Regions from separate parts of the Homo sapiens genome. Here all the other regions are linked to region 1. Evidence: promoter capture Hi-C in human tissues and cell types (Jung and others, 2019). All regions are on one chromosome and are shown on one strand. Each heading gives the region's core, a stretch centred on a gene start or on the middle of the fragment in contact. The rest is flanking DNA. Distances are from core to core; before and after follow the strand shown.

What was found. The method cuts DNA at HindIII sites, captures the fragments that hold promoters and counts their contacts. A contact is called where the count stands out against the background at its distance.
Region 2: a fragment that was not itself captured here is called in contact with the fragment with the promoter of RAB36 in region 1 in 2 of the 25 tissues and cell types used here (dorsolateral prefrontal cortex and lymphoblastoid cells).
Region 3: a fragment that was not itself captured here is called in contact with the fragment with the promoter of RAB36 in region 1 in 5 of the 25 tissues and cell types used here (adrenal gland, dorsolateral prefrontal cortex, lymphoblastoid cells and 2 more).
Region 4: a contact is called between a fragment that was not itself captured here and the fragment with the promoter of RAB36 in region 1, in 1 of the 25 tissues and cell types used here (lymphoblastoid cells).
Region 5: a contact is called between a fragment that was not itself captured here and the fragment with the promoter of RAB36 in region 1, in 3 of the 25 tissues and cell types used here (aorta, esophagus and thymus).

The regions. Positions count from the first base shown.
Region 1 is chr22:23,144,141-23,146,946 of GRCh38, reverse strand. It overlaps RAB36 (RAB36, member RAS oncogene family), which reads right to left and starts at 1,470. Exons shown (of 11, transcript NM_004914.5): 1 at 1,396-1,470; 2 at 262-342. The coding sequence starts at 330. It also overlaps a transcript of RSPH14 not described here. RefSeq lists a silencer at 1,648-1,717. The HindIII fragment of the contact is 15,551 bases long and covers 1-2,806 here.
Region 2 is chr22:22,802,478-22,805,283 of GRCh38, reverse strand. It overlaps IGL. Among named protein-coding and RNA genes, the nearest start is that of MIR650, 19 kb to the left of the region's middle. The HindIII fragment of the contact is 4,576 bases long and covers 1-2,806 here.
Region 3 is chr22:23,442,577-23,445,382 of GRCh38, reverse strand. No RefSeq gene overlaps it. Among named protein-coding and RNA genes, the nearest start is that of LINC01659, 10 kb to the right of the region's middle. The HindIII fragment of the contact is 6,266 bases long and covers 1-2,806 here.
Region 4 is chr22:23,418,152-23,420,957 of GRCh38, reverse strand. No RefSeq gene overlaps it. Among named protein-coding and RNA genes, the nearest start is that of LINC01659, 14 kb to the left of the region's middle. The HindIII fragment of the contact is 3,489 bases long and covers 1-2,806 here.
Region 5 is chr22:22,875,638-22,878,443 of GRCh38, reverse strand. All of the region lies in intron 2 of LOC105372948 (a long non-coding RNA gene), which reads left to right. It overlaps LOC102724638 (a long non-coding RNA gene), which reads left to right. Exons shown (of 5, transcript XR_938046.4): 5 at 565-948. It also overlaps IGL. Among named protein-coding and RNA genes, the nearest start is that of MIR5571, 9.2 kb to the left of the region's middle. The HindIII fragment of the contact is 7,203 bases long and covers 1-2,806 here.

The DNA.
Region 1 (2,806 bases), core at 221-2,720:
TGAAGGATTCACATCAAGGACTGTCTGGCTGCAAAATCCCAGCCCTTATAACCTCCAGGCCACACTGCTGCCCAGTGTCACCATTAACTTGCGGTCCCACCTTGGGCAGTCAGTGACCAGTCTCCCAGCTCCTCAAGGTAAATCTGACAATGGACAGACCTCCTTGATTCACCTGCTTTACTTCTAGGCATGAGTGTAGAGTGGGGAGAGCTGATGTGGCTGCAGGGCCAGGAGAGCACTGCAGACGTAATGACTCTCTACCTTAGGGAAGCTGGCGATGACACGGTCGCGGCTCACAGGGGGCCCCAAAGGTGTCAGGGAGGACCTCATTCTTCCACAGTCCTGTGGACCCAACCAGGAGAAAGACAGTTAAGGAGCTGTGCAAATACCTGGGGATTCACCCATGAGTTTCCACCTAACTTTTCATCAGATCCAGGCTGGGTGCAGTGGCTCATGCCTGTAATCCCAGCACTTTGGGAGGCCAAGGTGGGAGGATCACTTGGGCCCAGGAGGTTGAGACCAGCCTGGGCAACAAAGTGAAACCTCAGTCTCTACAAAAAAAAACCAAAAAAATTAGCAGGGCATGGTGGCCTGTGCCTGCAGTCCCAGCTACTTGGGAGGAAGGTGGGAGGAATGCTTGAGCCTGGGAGGTCAAGGGTGCAGTGAACCGTGAAGGTGCCACTGCACTCCAGCCTGGGTGATAGAGTAAGACCTTGTCTCAAGAATTATAAATAAAACCAGATCCAGGCTTCCCTCTCTGTCAGGAATATGGGGCAGAGGCCATTTCTCTCAATCTGCATACAGCAGGCAGCATGGTATGGGGGAACCAGGCCTGCCCCACCCTGCCTGGGAGTCAGAAGACCTGGGTCTCCCCTTGACAGGTGTCTACCAAGGAGGAGCTCCCCTCTGAGCTTACCTTACTGGGCTGTGAGGCATGGCACAGCTCAGGCAGTGGAAGTAGAGTGGGGAGGGGTCTCCTGCTCCCAGTCTGCAAAGGACGAAGGCTCTAGGTGGGCCTGGGGGCCTTAACTTTCAGCCAACTAGGCCTTTTCCCTGAAAACCCTCACTTCACCAGGCCTCTGACTCCTCGAGCCTCCTCAACAGCCCCTCTGTCTCCTTTTTCTGTCCGGACTCCTCTCCAGGCTGGGCTGGGGTGGTCCTGGCGGAGTCCGGTTGTCTTCCCGCATCTGACCTGGCTCTCCTCCACAACCAGCGCGGGCCTGGCCCAGAGTTTGCGCTCCGGAAATGAGGACGCCCCGGGGCCGCAGGCCGCTTTCAAGTTATAGGGGCGGGAAGTGGGCGCGGACGCTGTGCCCTCGCGGCCCTGGCCTCGGGATGTGCCAGCACGGGGTTGGGTGACCGGGAGGGTCGGACAGAGTGGGCGAGCTGACTCACCAGCGATGGCTGTGAAAGCTGGGGCTCCGCGCGGCCTGGTCCGCCTGAGCCAGCGGCGGCGATCACCATGGCAACGAGAGCCACGCGGGACCTGCGGGCTACACGAATCGTCGACGTCGTGGGCGGGGTCTGCGTTGGACTGGCAGCGGCGCGTCCAAGCATCCAGCTTGCACCGGCGATCACCATAGCAACGAGAACCTGCCTGGAGTCTGGGCGGGGCTGGCAGCAGAGAGACTCCTGGACACCCTGGAGAGCCGGAGATCACCATGACAACAAGGGCGGTGCTGGATGGGTGGGCGGTGGGCGGGGCTATGGAGGCCCGGGGGCGGAGCCTGAGCCCTGGGTGGGGCTGACCGTGGAGAGATTCGCGCAGGTTCTGGTGATCAGCTCGGCTGGGAGAGGTTGGGCGGTTATGGCATAAGAGCTCCTGATGTGGTATTGATGTTTAATTGGAGTCAAGCACCCTGCAGCTGCAGAAGATAGACCTGCCTACCATCTACTGACCTTAGTCTGCATAGTTCTGAATCCAGTGCTGTCTGAATATCATATGCCTGGCTTCTAGAGCTCACGGTACAAAATTAATTTCCTTAATAAAAAGCTGACCTGAGTCAGTGATTTCCTCTGAACTAGTTTCGGTTTGGAAAGTTAGCTGTTTTGGGCTAGATGGCCTCTTGTGGCCCTTATAAAACCGTGGAACCAGCTTCGAAGTCCGGGGTTCAGTTTGAGAACCTACTTAATTCAGCTCCTTAACTTTTCTGCATCACAATATGGAAGCCTTGGTACACAGATCTAACTCAGTCATCTTCAATTCAAAGCTAAGTGTGCTGGAGGCTGGTGTTTGATGTCTTTTTTTTTTTTTTTTAAAGAGATGGAGTCTTGCTATGTTGTCCAGGCTGGACTCGAACTCCTAGGCTCAAGGAATCCTCCCGCCTCAGCCTCCCCAGTCCTTGGGACTACAGGCAAGGGCCACCACACCTGGCTCTGTTTAATGTCTTTTAGTGAGTTTCACTGCTAAGGTTGAGGCTTAGGGGGTGAACTTAGGTGAGTTGTTCCACCTTCCGCACCTCAGTTTACTCAACTATAAAATAAACGCAACTATCTATTTCAATGGATCACCTGAGATGGTGAAAGTGCTTTTATACTGTAAAGCTTGATTCAAGTCCATTAACTATTCATTTGTCCTACATGTACTGAAAGCTTCCTGGTATATGCCTAGCACTGGGGAGACAAGGAAAGAGAACGGACATGGTGTCCACCCTCAGGGAAATTGGAGTCCACTGCGGGAAGCAGAGAAGTAAATAGAGAATTAGGGGAAGGGAGTGTGCCAATGGGATTTAGGAGAAGGGAAGATTAAGCTGTGGGGTCACTTACTAATTTGGATTTGGGGATTTGGCAGGAGCTAGAGATCACC
Region 2 (2,806 bases), core at 140-2,639, 340 kb after region 1:
AGAAAGTGTATAGAGCAGGCCAGGCCTGGTGGCTCACACCTGTAATCCCAGCACTTTGGGAGGCCAAGGAGGCAGGAGGATCACTTGAGGCCAGGAGTTCGAGACCAGCCTGGTCATCATGGAGAAAGCCGGTCTCTACTAAAAATACAAAAATTAGGTGGATGTGATGGTGCACACCTGTAATCCCAGCTACCTGGGAGGATGAGGCACAAGAATCACTTGAAGCTGGGAGGTGGCGATTGCAGTGAGCTGAGATCACACCACTGTAACCCAGCCTGGGTGACAGAGTGAGACTCTGTCTCACAAAAAAAAAAAAAAAAAAAAAGAAAGTGTTTAGGTGTTTAGAGCAAAGAGTGAGGATTTCTTAAGTCCTGTATTGCTGAATTCAGGCTCAGGACGCAACATCAACTCTTACCTGCATTTCCAGCCTTCAGCCTGCCCAAGAGATTTTTATCCTTGTCAGACAGGACAATCCTATGAACCAATTTCTTCTTTTAAGTTTCTCTCTCTCTCTCGATATGCTCACATACATGCATGTGTATATACACATATGTATGTTATACACACATATATATCTTACCAATTTTGTTTCTGTGGATAACCCTAATGTAGCTTATTCGCTCTAATTCTTTTTTGATCAAAAGGTTTGATTTAATGACTACTTTAAGGTTTATGTATATAGAGATCTTATGAAAATCTACCTGCAGTTGTTACACATTCCCATATGAGACCTTGATAACATGTTCTTCACCCACCACAGATTTTGTGCTGTCTTTGTCATATAATTTGCCTTTATTTTCATTATAAATCACAATGTATTTTATTAATTTATCTTTGATCAGTGAACTGTATTTTATTGGCATTAACATAATACAGAGGTTTTCACAAGTATCTATGTAGTTACTGTACCTGATATTTAATTTTTTTATTTCCTTTTTTTTTTTTTAATAGAGACAGATTCTTAATATGTTGCCCAGGCTGGACTGCAGTGGTATGATCATACCTCACATCAGCCTCAAACTCCTGTGCTCAAGCAATACTCCTGCCTCAGTCTCCCAAAGTGCTGAAATTACAGACATGAGCCACTGGGCCCAGCCTGATGTTTTCACTTTTTTGTGTAAATTCACATTTCAATGTGACATCACTTTCCTTCTGTCTAGGGATATCCTTTACCCTTCTAATAGCAACAGTCTGGTGGTGAACAATTCTGTGAGTTTTTAAATGTCAGCAAAACTTTCATTTATTCACCATTTTTGAAAAATACTGCATGAAGGGGAATATGGGGAAAAGTGAATTTTAAAAATAGACCAAGATTTGATTAAGCTTTTCACCAAAGAAGATATACAGATAACAAGCACCTGAAAAGATGCTCAGCCTGATGTTGCTAAGAAAATACAAGTTAAAAAATTAATAAGAATCGCTACAGATCTATTAGAGTGGCTTTAAACAAAAACTGACAATAATATTGAGTGTTAATGAGGATGCACACAACTACAGTTCTCATAAATGGCTGGGGACATGTCAAGATCCATGTTGCCTCCTCAGGCAGAGCCCCATGACAGTCCCCTGAGGCAGGGGTGCAGGGTGCAATGGCACTCACTGGATGCAGTCATCTCAGCCCGACCCCTCTCTCAGGGCCGTTTTCCTGCCTGGGCTGTTCTGGTCTCTCCCAGTGTAGTCCCCACAGGCTGGTGTGGTGGAAACAGATTGATGACTTATCAAAATGGCCTCAATCATGGCCTGCATCTGCCTCTGCCTAAGGGTGTCTTGAGGGAGGACATCTGGGATGATGAAATTTGAAAGGGGGAGAGTCAACATTCTCAGGGTCAATGGAGATGACATAGGGCTTCTCACTCTCAGTCCTTGAAGAGGAAGGGGAGGGGGTATGTTTTGGCCTCACTTCTTGGTCTGTGTCACTGTGGCTCACCCATCCTCACCATCAAACATGTGGCTCTCTCCACAGTGATACTCGGCCTCATCCTCAGATTGGAGGTTGAAGATAATTAAGTAGCATTCAGCCCCAGGGCTGGAGCCCAATAAGTGACTGGGGATCCTGTTCCCCTTGCTGTTGCTGCCATTACTCTTAACCTCCATTATACACTAGGGGGACCTCCTTGGTCTCTGTTGATACTATTCACTGGTGTAGGTGACCTTGGCTGAGGCTCACAGCCAGGCAGATGCAGACGGGGGCTGGGTCAGCACAGACAGAGCACAGAGACCTGGAAACATATAATTTCATGAATGATGCTGAATGCACAGGAGAACTGGAAAGAATGCCACTGAGGACCAGTGCTGGGGGGAAATAGCAGTGAAAGGGTTTCCCTGAATTCTCTGGATGCTCCAACCTGTGGAGAATATGAAGGGCAGGAGGTAGAAGGAGACACAGGCCGTGGTGGGAGGCACTTCCGAGAGCTCTGATCGAGGCTGCCCAGTGGAGCCTGGACACAACCAGCTCCTATCTTATCCTCTTCTTGAAGCTCAAGAAGGAAGGAGCATTGAATCCAAATCTGTTCTCTATTCCCAAGCGTGTCTGTCTGAGCTCATAGCTGAGCCCTGGAGCTGATGGCCTCAGGGTAGTCATTTCTCAAAGGCAGGAGAAGGGCCAAGTGGGTGTCAGGAGTGGAGAGTGGATTGTACTCAAAAAGACTGGACCTGAAAGGAAACATCAGTCACACCCTTTGCACGTGAGCTCTACTGGGGGACTTGGAGCTATTAGCATCCCCAAACAATACACCCACAGTGCCTCCTGCTGTCCACAGGAGGAATGCCATCCTCCATGTATCACTAGATTATGCAAAACAACTAC
Region 3 (2,806 bases), core at 218-2,717, 300 kb before region 1:
AACAGAAAACAAATAACAAGATGATAGACTTATCTAATCAAAGTAGTAATCAATTTAAATGTAAATGGCCCAGTGAAAAGGCAGAGAATGTCAGATTTTATGCACATTTAAGACTCAGCTATATCCTGCTTTTAAGAAGCACATTTTAACTATGAAGACGCAGTAGATTAAAAGTAACGTGAAGCAGATACAGTGTGCTCACATTTCGCCGTGTTCACATGAGCACACCTTGCTTCATCCGTTGCCTGACTGTGCCTCACAGACACTGCATTTTTTACAAATTTAAGGTCTGTGTCTGGCAAGTCTATTGGCACTATTTTTCCAAAAGCGTGGATTCACTTCATGTCTGTGTCATATATATTTCCAACTTTTTCATTATTAGTATATCTTTTATGGTAGTCTGTCATCTGTGATCTTTGATGTCACCATTGTAATGGTCTCGGAGCTCCACAAACAGTGCCCATAAGATAGCAAACTTAACTGATAAATGTGTGTGTTCTGACTGCTCCACTGACCAGCCATCCCCCATCTCTCTCCTTCTCCTTAGGCCTCCCCATTCCCTGAGACACGACCATCACAACAATATTGAAACCAGGCCCATTAATAACCCTAGAATGGCTTCTAGGTGTTCAAGTGAAAGAAGACTCACATGTCTCTCACTTTAAATCAAAAGCTAGAGATAATTAAGTTTAGTGAGGAAGGCATGTTGAAAACTGAGGCCAAAAGCTAGGTCTCTTGCACCACACAGCTAGCCTGCAAAGGAGAAGTTCGTAAAGGAAATCACAAGGGCTATTCCAGCGAACACATGAATGTTAAGAAAGCAGAACAGGCTTACTGCTAATATGGAGATGGTAAATGAGCTCTTGGGGCCCTTAAGAATGATGCTAAGTCTTCTCTGTCTGTGCTCTATCAGTGGAACAACGAAGCCTGGATGACAGCACATCTGTTCAAACGTAGCACAGTGCACTGAATATTTTAAGCCCACTGTTGAGACCTCCTGCTCAGAAAACAAAATTCCTTTCAAAATATTATTGCTCACTGACAATGCAACTAGTTACTGGGCTCTGATGGAGATGAACGTTGTTTCTATGACTGCTAACACAGCATCCATCCTGTGGTCCCTAGATCAAGGGACAATTGACTTTCAAGTGTTATTATTTAAGAAATACATTTTGTAAGGCTATAGTTGTCACAGAGTGCTTCCTCTAATGAATCTGGGCAAAGACAACTGAAAACCTTCCGGAAAGGAGCTGTCATTCTAGATGCCATTAAGAACATCAGTGATTTATGAGAGGAGGTCAAAGTATCACCATTAACAGGAGTTTGCAGAAGTTGGTTCCAACCCTCCTGGATGACTTGGTTCAAGAAGAGGTCAGTGGAGGAAGATGGACAGATGTGGTGAAAATAGCAAGAGAATTAGAATTAGAAGCAGAGCCTGAAGATGTGACTAAATTGCTGCAATCTCATGATCAAGCTTGAATGGATGAGGAGCTGCTTCTTATGAATGAACAAAGAAAGTGGTTTCTTGAGATGGAATCTGCTCCTGGTGAAAATGCTGTGAACATTGTTGAAAAATGACAGCAAAGTACATCAACTTAGTTGATAAAGCAGTTTGAGGGGTTGAGAGGATTGGCTCCAAGATAGAAAGAAGTTCTACTGTAGGTAAAATGGTTTTAGAGAGCATTGCATGCTACAGAGAAATCTTTCATGAAAGGAAGAGTCAATCAATGTGGCCAGCTTCATTGCTGTTTTTTTTTTTTTTTTTTTTTTGGTGGGGGGATGGAGTCGTGCTCTGTTGCCCAGGCTGGAGTGCAGTGGCACGATCTCAGCTCACTGCAACCTCCACCTCCCAGGTTCAAGCGATTCTCGTGCCTCAGCCTCCCAAGTAGCTGGGATTACAGGTACGTGCCACCATGCCCGGCTAATTTTTGTGTTTGTAGTAGAGACAGGTTTTCACCATGTTGGCCAGGGTGGTCTCGAACTACTGGCCTCAAGTGATCCATTTGCCTCAGCCTCCCAAAGTGCTGGGATTACAGGCTTGAGCCACAGCACCCAGCCCATTGGTGTTTTTAAGAAACTGTCACAGCCACCCCAACCTTCAGCAACCACCACCCTGATCTGTCAGCAGCCATCACCATCAAAGCAAGAACCTCCACCAGCAAAGAGATTACAACTGGCTAAAGGTTTGGGTGATCGTTAGCATTTTTAAGCAATAAAGTATTTTTAAAATCAGGACATGTACATTGTTTTTTAAAGACATAATGCTATTGTACACTTGACAGACTATAGTATAGGATAAACATAACTTTTATATGCACTGGGAAACAAAATGCATGGGACTTGCTTTATTGTGATATTGGTTTAATCACAGTGATCTGGAACCAAATGCGCGATATACCCAAGGTTGCTTATTGACAGTGCAGCTCTGTATCAGACAAAGTAGATTTCAGAGCAAAGAATATTACTAGCAATAAAGGTCATTTCATAATGATAAAAGCGTCCATTTATATATGAAACAAAAACTGGAATGCAAGAAGGAATAGAGAAATCTGTAATTATAGTCAGAGATGTCAATATTCATCTATCAATAACTGATAGAACAGGAAGACAGAAAATTGGCAAGGATATAGAAGCTTTGCAAACATTATTAAAAATGTCAGCTACTTGACATCAATATAGCACATTCCAGTGGGATACAGGATACACACAGATTTTAAGTACACACACAACATTTACCAAGGCAGTAACATTCTGGATGGACCTTAAAACAAATTTCAAGAAATGTGACCAGATGCAGTGGCTCACG
Region 4 (2,806 bases), core at 203-2,702, 270 kb before region 1:
ACACCTGGCTTCTGCTCCCTGCTATATTAATGGAGCTGACTTGCTAACTTGAAGAACACTTTTTTTTTTTTTTTTTTTGAGACGGTGTCTCGCTCTGTCGCCCAGGCTGGAGTCCAGTGGCTAGATCTCGGCTCACTGCAACCTCCACCTGCCAGGTTCAAGCAATTCTTCTGCCTCAGCCTCCCAAGTACCTGGGACTACAGGCACGCACCACCATGCCCGGCTAATTTTTTGTATTTTCAGTAGAGACGGGGTTTCACTGTGTTGGCCAGGCTGGCCTCGAACTCCTGACCTTGTGATCTGCCCACCTCAACCTCCCAAAGTGCTGGGATTACAGGTGTGAGCCACTGCACCTGGCCCCGAAGGACACTTTTACATGCTGCTAGTGACAGGTTCCCTCTGTGCATGACCACCAGCCCAGGGGAAGGGTTCATGGCTTAAAGGTATCTCTTACCCTTCAAGCAAACTTGATGTATGGAAATGTGGATTTACCTTCAAGATAAACTAGTGTGTATCTGTACTTCTTGGCTTGAAATTAAATTCTTCACAGTAAAGGAATTTTGCAACAGAATTCCTTCTATAGGAATTTAAACAGTTACCTTGCTATAGACAACATTTTAGGCAGTCTGATATCCCACCATTGGTGGGAATGACTGCCTGTCACATTAACCTGCCTGCCCCTCTTTGTCCCCCTACAGCACTTATACTCATGCGGGCTCAGAGGCACAGGTGCTCCTGGCTCTGCCTACAGCCTCCTAGGCCTGTCATCTGGGCCTGTTGGTGCAGTACATGGATCTAGGTGCTGTCACGGACTGTCAGTTGTGGCGTGTCCTGGCAGGGCCTGGCTGGCCCGACCTCTGCTCATGCAGTATTCATCTGCACACCAGGAGCCGTCTGGGCCATCTCTGGTGTGCTGCCCCACTCAGTTCTGTGTGCAGTTGCTTTCCTTTCTTGCTTGTCTCCAGGCCATTTTTGTAAGTTTTTATGAGGTCCAAATGCTTAGGCATAGGCAGTAGGCAGGAAAATCCAGCAGGGCATGTAGATCATTCCTAGTAGTAAAAGAGGTCAAGGGGTTTGGCTAAAAACCTCACTTATATTGGGATATGGGAAAAGTGGGAGGGAACTGATTTCTCAGGAGTCCGCTTCATAATATGTGTCATGGCATGATTGCCTTCAATCCTCATGACAGTCTTAGAAAGTTACCCATATGAGGCCCACTTGAAAGATGAGGCGCAGTGAGGTTAGATGACTTGCCTGAGATCTCTCACCTGGTAAATGGCGGAGCTAAATCAGAGTAAGACACTCAAACTGCGTTGTGGTTAAGAGCTTGGACTCTGGAACCAGACTGTGCTGTACTATACCGGTTACTAGAGTGTGTGACCGGGAGTGTGTTCCTTATCCCCCCCGAGACTCAGTTTCCTCATCTGTGCAATGAAGGGCGTAACAGTCCTCCTAACCTTGTATGGTCGTAAGCATTTAGAATCTTCCCAGGCATGTGGTAAGCACCCAGTGAGCACCCCACACATCAGCTGGTACTGTCACTGACTAGTGCTCATGAAACTTGGAATGGAATTCTGAGGCTTGGGGCTTCCTGTCATCCAGAGACAGTCTTCAGGGGAGGATGCTGGGTCCAGACTGTCCAGTGAGTCAGCACAGGTTTCTTTGCAGTGTTTGGATGGGTGAGAATGAACAGTACCACCTCCAAGGGGGAGTTCTTTCCTATCTTGCTGGTCCCCTCCTCAACCCACTTGCTCCCGCTCTCTAACTGCCTTTGTCATCAGTATGAAAACATCTGCAAAAGCCTGCTCTCTAGCTCACTCCTGATCCCCTGGGGCTTTGCATTTTTTTTTATTAGCAATTCTTTAAACCTAAATAACCTGAAATAACTTATTTATTAAAGTTGTATCCTTTGGTCCCTTCCTCCACGTGTTGTGTTGTCCTGGGTTTTAGGGCAGGGGCGGCTTCATGGAAGTATACTACGACCGTGTCTCTGCTCATGACAAACCTGCCTCAGGAGAGCCAGGGTAATATACACAACAGTTACGGGGAAGAAAAGGGATGAAACACCCAGATGGCATAGACAGTGTGATTGGGGAAAACAAGTGTGCTGTTCTTAAAAATCTATTATATGCCAAGTGTCGGTTCAGAAGCTTTATATGCGTTGTCAGCCCTGCAAGTTAGGGGATACTGAGTCATTCCCTCTTTACGATGAGAACCCAGAGACAGAAGCATCTTGTGCAAGGGCACTCGGCACATGGGTGAGAGGAGCTGGGGGTTTGAACCTGCGACCCTATTGACTTCTGTGGGCCTAGGGAGGAAATGCAATTTGAACTGTGCCCAGGCCATGGTCGGATTGTCTTAAGTGAGATGTGGGGGTGCTGGGGTGAGCGCAGGCTCAGAGTTGAGCGTGAGCAGCATGTATTCAGGGGCAGCAAGGAGGCCAGCCTGGCCAGGCTGGGGTTGCGTTCAGTGTTGATGAGCTGTTGTACTGGGTTCTGTATGGGTGATGGGAGATAAGTAAGATGTGTTCCTTGCCCTCTGGGATCTTGCTGCAGCTGGCGAGACAGACGCACAAATAGATGATTTCAGTGCTGTGTGGTAAGAGCTGTGATGAGGGTAAGTATAGGGAGCTGTGGGAGCAGAGCAGAGGGAGCCGGGAGCATTCCCAGAGCCTTGCCCTGACTGCAAGGGCAAGGTAAGCAGCGGCAGGCTTAGCGGTGGAAGGCAGGAAGGGCTTCCTGACAGGCAGAGAACAGCATGAGCAAAGGCATGTCCTTGAGGGCTTTTCTTGTTTATTCTCCTGGTC
Region 5 (2,806 bases), core at 98-2,597, 270 kb after region 1:
ATAAGAGCCTGGGGACATCTTAATGGGGAAGTGTCTCTGGAACTGCTGTCAGGACTGACAGAGAAAAATGAGTCCTGGGATTTGTGTTGGAAACAGTGGAGTCAGGCCCCTGTGGAAAGAGTCTGGCATGTGTGAGGACCTGAGAGGTCAGCGGCAAACCTGAAAGGGGTCCTGGATTCAGGCCATTTCGGCTAATTGTGCCATTTTAATAAATTAGTAATTTGGGGGCAGGAGTCATGTGTGGTCAGGTGTGGTGAAGGGAAATTTACAGGTAATTAATCAAGTTCTTTGGCAGCTGCTTAGCACATATAGGGGCTTCCAGGATGGTGCTGCTGGGGCAGTGACAGGAGAGTCCCCGGTGGGTTGAGCCCAGCCCACTGACCCCTCCCTAGTTCACCTGGGGCTGAAGACACTCAGGGGAGTGGTTCCTGGTTTCTTACCTCCACCTGGTGCCCACCATGCTGCTCTGTGGGGACCCCCACTGCTGTCTGTGTTTCTGGTCCTGGGCTCGCTGTCTTGAATTCCATGTGGGTGACCAGCACTGCTTTCCCTAAAATTCTACAGATACAGGACCTAGGAACACAAAATCTGCAAACTGCACTTAACACAAAAGGGAAGGGGCTGAGATGGGGAGGAACAATTCCAAGGTCACTTGGCAAGGAGAGAGAAAAGGAAGACGAGAAATGCTCTGGACCTGTAACAGTAAGTCTTCTGAGTGTCCTGGGACCAGCCTGCCAGGGAGGGCATGGGAAAATCCTCAGCCCAAATTCTCAGCCCAAATCCCTCCCTATGGAGACGGCATCTCAGTCAGCTCTTTTAGCTGCCTGTAGGGGGCGCGCCTGCCACACTCTGGGTTGAAAGGGAGAGAAAAGACGGTTGATTCCCAGCTCAGGAACCAAGCTGTCTAGAGACATTTTCTTTTCTTTTTTTTTTTTAATTTATTATTATTATACTTTAAGTTTTAGGGTACATGTGCACAATGTGCAGGTTAGTTACATATGTATACATGTGCCATGCTGGTGCGCTGCACCCACTAACTCGTCATCTAGCATTAGATATATCTCCCAATGCTATCCCTCGCCCCTCCCCCCACCCCACAACAGTCCCCAGAGTGTGATGTTCCCCTTCCTGTGTCCATGTGTTCTCATTGTTCAATTCCCACCTATGAGTGAGAATATGCGGTGTTTGGTTTTTTGTTCTTGCGATAGTTTACTGAGAATGATGATTTCCAATTTCATCCATGTCCCTACAAAGGACATGAACTCATCATTTTTTATGGCTGCATAGTATTCCATGGTGTATATGTGCCACATTTTCTTAATCCAGTCTATCATTGTTGGACATTTGGGTTGGTTCCAAGTCTTTGCTATTGTGAATAATGCCACAATAAACATACATGTGCATGTGTCTTTACAGCAGCATGATTTATAGTCGTTTGGGTATATACCCAGTAATGGGATGGCTGGGTCAAATGGTATTTTTAGTTCTAGATCCCTGAGGAATCGCCACACTGACTTCCACAATGGTTGAACTAGTTTACAGTCCCACCAACAGTGTAAAAGTGTTCCTATTTCTCCACATCCTGTCCAGCACCTGTTGTTTCCTGACTTTTTAATGATCGCCATTCTAACTGGTGTGAGATGGTATCTCATTGTGGCTTTGATTTGCATTTCTCTGTTGGCCAGTGATGGTGAGCATTTTTTCATGTGTTTTTTGGCTGCATAAATGTCTTCTTTTGAGAAGTGGCCAGCATATAAACAGAACCAAAGACAAAAACCACATGATTATCGCAATAGATGCAGAAAAGGCCTTTGACAAAATTCAACAACACTTCATGCTAAAAACTCTCAATAAATTAGGTATTGATGGGACGTATCTCAAAATAATAAGAGCTATCTACGACAAACCCACAGCCAATATCATACTGAATGGGCAAAAACTGGAAGCATTCCCTTTGAAAACTGACACAAGACAGGGATGCCCTCTCTCACCACTCCTATTCAATATAGTGTTGGAAGTTCTGGCCAGGGCAATCAGGCAGGAGAAAGAAATAAAGGGTATTCAGTTAGAAAAAGAGGAAGTCAAATTGTCCCTGTTTGCAGACAACATGATTGTATATCTAGAAAACCCCATTGTCTCAGCCCAAAATCTCCTTAAGCTGATAAGCAACTTCAGCAAAATCTCAGGATACAACATCAATGTACAAAAATCACAAGCATTCTTATACACCAACAACAGACAGACAAAGAGCCAAATCATGAGTGAACTCTCATTCACAACTGCTTCAAAGAGAATAAAATACCTAGGAATCTAACTTACAAGGGATGTGAAGGACCTCTTCAAGGAGAACTACAAACCTTCCTGTAGTCCCAGAAACTCAGTAGGCTGAGCTGGAAGGATCTTCTTGCTCTTTATTTTATATTTGTCCCATATGTTCGTTAGTTTTCTTTCCCTTTTGCTGTCTCCTTTTTTGATTGATTTTTTAAATTATCTTTTTATTTCCTTGCTGGGTTAAGTGATAGTTAATTTTAAGTGTTAGATTGGGTAGGCTATGCACCAGATTGATTTTATCAAATACCAGTATAGGAGTTGACATGAAGATAACTTTCAGATGTGATGAACATTTTAATTAGTAAACTTTGTATAAGCAGATTTCTCTTCACAATGTGGGTGGGACTCTTTAGTGAGCTGAATGTTTTTAGAACAAATGTGGAGGTTTCCTGAAGTGCTGCCTTGCTAAATTTGGATGCAGGACTGCAACATCAACTCTTACTTGAATTTCCAGCCTTCAGCCTGACCAACATAT